Regions from separate parts of the Homo sapiens genome. Here region 2 is linked to region 1. Evidence: promoter capture Hi-C in 16 types of primary human blood cells and fetal thymus (Javierre and others, 2016). All regions are on one chromosome and are shown on one strand. Each heading gives the region's core, a stretch centred on a gene start or on the middle of the fragment in contact. The rest is flanking DNA. Distances are from core to core; before and after follow the strand shown. Region 1 holds the start of ANAPC4 (anaphase promoting complex subunit 4). Region 2 overlaps SEL1L3 (SEL1L family member 3).

Evidence for each region. Contacts are between HindIII fragments. The CHiCAGO score rates a contact against its expected background, and 5 or more counts as called.
Region 2: a contact is called between a fragment that was not itself captured here and the fragment with the promoter of ANAPC4 in region 1, in 1 of 17 cell types (endothelial precursors). The highest score is 5.9, in endothelial precursors.

What each region holds. Positions count from the first base shown.
Region 1 is chr4:25,375,935-25,378,634 of GRCh38, reverse strand. It overlaps ANAPC4 (anaphase promoting complex subunit 4), which reads right to left and starts at 1,372. Exons shown (of 29, transcript NM_013367.3): 1 at 1,291-1,372; 2 at 1,079-1,217. The coding sequence starts at 1,207. RefSeq lists enhancers at 970-1,039, 1,070-1,129 and a silencer at 1,250-1,669. The HindIII fragment of the contact is 5,076 bases long and covers 1-2,700 here.
Region 2 is chr4:25,774,128-25,776,827 of GRCh38, reverse strand. SEL1L3 (SEL1L family member 3) reads left to right here. Exons shown (of 24, transcript NM_015187.5): 17 at 468-551. Among named protein-coding and RNA genes, the nearest start is that of SEL1L3, 88 kb to the left of the region's middle. The HindIII fragment of the contact is 1,149 bases long and covers 830-1,978 here.

The sequences.
Region 1 (2,700 bases), core at 123-2,622:
CCTTGCTTCTTCCTTCACTGAGAAAATGGATGTAACAGTGCCCTCTATCACGCCTACCCATCTGATTGCACGGATGTGCCTCCCGTCTACCTTCCCTCCTACTTCTGTGACGGTACCACCTGCTGCTCTCTAGAGCCACAACAGAGTTTCAAAGCATCCCGGCAGCGGAGGGAGACTAGCTAGATTTCATGGAGGGCCCTGAAAAATTAGACATCAATACCCTGGCGACTGGATCATGGTAGATAACATGGTGCAGACTACAGTCTGCAGGGTGCTAAGATTTCCTTATCACCTAGTTTCCAAATTTGGCTCTATACAACTCTCACATGGCCAGATAACTCTCAAGCCAGAGGCGGAAAGATGCACAGGTGAAGGTTTCCTTACAAAATGGCTGGCAGGTAATAACTCTCAGCAGAAAGTTGGGTACAACTGGTTTATACTCGATGAAGTTTTATGTGAACAAGAAATGCTGATAACACCCATGCACGTTCTGTCTGGAATCCAATGCATGCCTTCCTTGTCCAATTTAGAGGTATTTTTAGTGGAGGGTGGTTATCCAACCCGTACTATAAAACGTGGACAAGAGAAGCCAGGTTCTTAAATATATCCTGTGTGGCAGCTACATGCAGGCACATTTGCAGCTGAAGTTTGACAATAACTCTTCCTACTGCTATTAAAACTGTAAGCAAACTTAGGGCAGGGTCCCTGCATCTACCATTATGTCTAGCTCATGAGCAGCACATAGTGGGCTTTTTTAAAAAGTTCATTTAACTAATAAACCAATGAGTGAAGAAGACTTGGGGAAGCAGGATTGCGTGACGGTGTTAAGCTGTGTGAAAACTGTTACTTTAGCCATAAAAGTACCGAAAATAGCACAGACATCACCTTTCGCATATATACTTAAAGTTTACTGCCGTCCTGGGAGGCAGGGAAGGGGTAGCAGGTGGCCAGCCATGTCTGCAGAAGGGGAAACTGAGGCTCCGGCCGCCTGTGGCCCGAATGAACAGGCTCGGGCTCGGTGTTCTTGGGCCCCCCGGGAGCAGACCCAGCACAGGCGGGCTCCCGCCGGCTCACTCACCTCGCCAGCTGTGTTGGCCAAAGCAATGAGATCCCGCTTGGGCGACCAGACCAGGAAAATAATCTCCTGCGGGAGCTGCTTCTCTCCCACCACCCGGAAGGATGGGAAACAGGTCGGAAAACGCAACATGGGGACGGCCCTGCAACGACACCCCAGTCAGAGGCCGGCAGGAGCCCCCGGCTCTCCACGAGGAGCCCCGACCGCGCCTGTACCTGCAAGAGTCCCCACCGGCAGACTAACACGGCCCCAGTGGCCTCTCCCCTCCCTCTGCCGGCCGCGCGCCACAGCCTCCAGGCCGCCCCGCCCCGCCGCTGTCGCGCGCTCCAGGCACTTCCGGCGTCGGGACTGCCTCGCGAGAGGAGGAGGAGGGGCGGGGCGCGCACCGGTCTTGGGGGTGCTGAGAGCCAGAAGGGGCGGACAGGGACGGGGCGCGGTGGGCGGGGCAGGGAGGAGCGAGGGGCGGATCGAGGTGGGGGTAGGATGGGGCCCGTGGGCGGGGCAGGGAGCAGCGATGGGGCAGAGCTAGGAAGGGTGGGGCACGCGGGCGGGGCAGGGAGCCCCGAGGGGCGCGGAGAGGGAGGGAGCCGCGCGCCGGACCCAGGTGCTGGTGGGATCGCTGGGCGCCGGGACCTGAAAGGGCCCGAGAAGGGCGGGGCAGGCCCCTGCGGCCACACGCAGGTCTTTTGGGAACCCGTGTGTGCACGTGTGTGGGCATGCTTGCATACCTTTCCCGTTTTCCCGGAAATTCTCTGCTGTGGGCAAAGGGACGGTAGGGGTTTATGGGGTAGGCTTCAGCGACAACGGGGAGATGAAAAAGAATATGAACTTTAGGTCCTGATCAGCTGGCGCCTCCTCTAACAGTTACTAAGCGAGTAGTTCTCATGTCAGTCCTGGTGGGTCAGTATAGAATTTTAAAAGTCCCCCTGTCCAAGCAGCACCCCAAACCAATTAGAAGAAAATTAACCCTGGATGGGCCCAGTATTTACTAAAACTCTTTGGGTGATTCCAATTTGGAGAGAAGAGGCGCGTGCCCTAAAACCTCCCTAACAGGCAAATAATACTGTGACATCTCATCCCATTTAACCCTCACAACTTATTGGTAGTTGCAGCACCGTCATAACGAATAAAGAGTGTGGGCTCAGGGCCGGGCGCGGTGGCTCACGCCTGTAATCCCAGCACTTTGGGAGGCCGTGGCGGACGGATCACAAGGACAGGAGATAGAGCCCATCCTGGCTAACATGGTGAAACCCCGTCTCTACTAAAAAATACAAAAAAGTAGCCAGGCATGGTGGCGGGCACCTGTAGTCCCATCTACTGGGGAGGCTGAGGCAGGAGAATGGCGTGAACCCGGGAGGCGGAGCTTGCAGTGAGGCGGAGCTTGCAGTGAGGCGGGGCTTGCAGTGAGGCGGAGCTTGCAGTGAGCCGAGATTGTGCCACTGCACTCCAGCCTGGGCAACAGAGCCAGACTCCGTCTCTAAAATATAAAAAAAGAGTGTGGGCTCACACACGATTTCTTCTATAGGTACTTGGGCATTTACTATGTGGAGGAACTGAGGCTACAGCAATGCATGGGACGGGAACTCTGCCCAGAGGCTCACAGGCCAGCCTGGCAGACTTGTAAA
Region 2 (2,700 bases), core at 155-2,654, 400 kb before region 1:
TCCCCTTCTGTTAGCTTTTTAGTTATGCATTCTTAAACTATTATTTTAGTAGTTATAAATCTAAAGATTATAACAGACTAGCTCATTACTAATAAACCCCTAATAAATTAGAGAACAAAGCAAAATAGGGAAAGCTAATAATAAGTCAGTAAACATGACTTAATAGAGTACTAGAACTCTTGGTAGAGATTATATTTTTTCATATTGGTGGATATATTTCATTATGTATCTTACATGTCTTTGTTTCCATAAAAGACAACTCCTAATCATTCATAAGAAAGGGCACTAAATGAAAAGCTCTCAGAATGCATTTTCTTTACCTTAACATTCAGTTCTGGTTTGTTGCTCTATAAAAATTCTAACTAGCAAAATATTCCCCAAGTGGGATTTATTGAGAGCATATGAAGAAAAACATTTTATTAAATTTGCCATGGTTTGCGTATTTTCTCTTCCCTTTTTTTTTTCAGATGGGCAAAACATGTAGCTGAGAAAAATGGCTACTTGGGCCATGTCATCCGCAAAGGCCTCAATGCCTACCTGGAAGGTTCATGGTAAGCTTGGGATCCACGTTAGAGCAAACTTTTTTCCCTGTCTGTCAGTATAGTCTTATGAAATGGAGTCTTAAAATGCAACTGAGAAAGCAATTTGCAGGGAAATCACAGCTCCCAGTAATGATATTCAGAGTATCATGGACTGATTGGCTGTTGATTGGAAAACATAGCATTTCCATGTTTAATTATACACAAAAATTTGTTCTCTAGGGGAATTGTTCACACTCATCAAGTTGAGAAAGATATACAAATACATTGATTTCTCTTTCCTTTAAGCTTGCCCCTCTTGGTTTTAGAGTCTGGTCTGGAGACAGCATAGGGGATCTTAGGTGAGACTCTCTGCTTTTTATTTCCAGGCCACAGAAAGTCCAGAATTTCTACCTTGTTCCTAGCAAGAAGAGAGATCAGTGTTTAAGGTTCAGGCCACCTCTTCCATAGATGTTTTACTGCATCTGCCATGACTAGGAGCCTGGGATTGTTGGAAGTCCAGTATCCAATGGCACAAACAAACAGATGCCCTCCTTCCTAACCTTCTGGTGGAGTTAGCAAATCTCATCTTGTTCTTTATGGGATGAAACATGGTGTATGAGGACCCACAAATGTTCCCTGTTTGCTGTTACTCATAGATTTTACAAATAAGGGACCCCTCTCCTAACTTGACCAGTCTTCTTTCTTTTATTTTTTTCTATCAGTTCTAGCATTCCATTGTTGTTTTAACTTGGGTCACATTTTCTTGGCTGCTTTATTGCTTAAATGATGTGGATATTTCAGTAATAACTAAAAAAAGTCCTCAGTCCACTGCCTCAAAGACATTAGCTGAGACTCAGCATTGATCATACTCTGATTTGAACCTTAATTAAAAATTAAAGTGTAAGTTCAAAAGAATGACATTTTCCCTTTTAGTCCATGGCTGCACACGCAACCAACAGATAGCATCTCAATGAGTAAGAATCTTAAATTAGAAAGTGTAGGAGAAATGAGGCCAATGAAGAAAGCACCAAATGCAAATTTTTATTATCATCATCCTGTGAAAGTTTATTACCTGTGGCCTCACTTTGCACAATCAAAAAGAGATTTTTTTCAGAAAGTTACTGTTTCCCCATCGTAAATGTACCTTACAATTTTTGTGATGCTTTATCTTGTTTCTCAAGTGAACTTCAGTTCATAAAACTCCCAAATTTGACTTTAACTCATTCTCTGCTTCTCGCTTTCCCAACCTCCCACCCTCTGCTCCCTACAAACTTCTTAGGATGAACTAAACATTCAGATATCGGAGTGTTTATTTTTGGGGTTTTCCCAAAGGAAGAGCACTCCTGTAAACACTCCTCCCCAACCCACCCCTGCCCCCATGATGTCTGACACTGTTTTTCTCATAGAGTCTTTGTTAGTTCCTTAGCTTTCTTGCCTACTTTTGTTGTTTTGAAGCTTTTTTGAGATGAAGTCTCACTCTGTCACCCAGGCTAGGGTGCAGTGGCACGATCTTGGCTCACTGCAGCCTCCGCCTGCCGGGTTCAAGCAATTCTCCTGAGTAGCTGGGATTACAGGTGCCCACCACCACGCCCAGATAATTTTTGTATTTTTAGTAGAGAGGGTTTCTTCATGTTGGCCAGGCTGGTCTTGAACTCCTGACCTCAGGTGATTCACCACCTTGGCCTCCCAAAGTGTTGGGATTACAGGCATGAGCCACCTCACCTGGGCCCTGCTTTTGAATTTAATATCACAAAGCACTTTAGCATATTGTAAAAGCTGCTGCGAAGGCCTAGATGAATTAAGATTTCTGTGGCTTGTTCTCTTTCTTAATACTCAGCCTCATCATGGTTTTCTGTTTGGGTGGTTGGTTGGTTGATTGGTTGGTTGGTTGGTTGGGGGAAGGAGAAAGGAGACCTGAAGTGTGTCCTGTACCCTTTGTGAGTTTGGATTCAGTTCCGCAGATTTTACTGAGTACATTTAAATGCAGGTTGCCTGGCCACAGGTTTCGAGAGATGCCTCAAATAGGGCTTAGGGAAATTTGCTGCCTCATCTCTTCTGCAGGCAGGTTCTCATGTGGCCCATATTCTATCTGATCTCTGAGCCCTTGCGCTGGCTTTTTCCTCTGCCCCGGAATCCTACCTAACTCCTTATTTCCTTTTGTTCTTCCATGGATCATGAT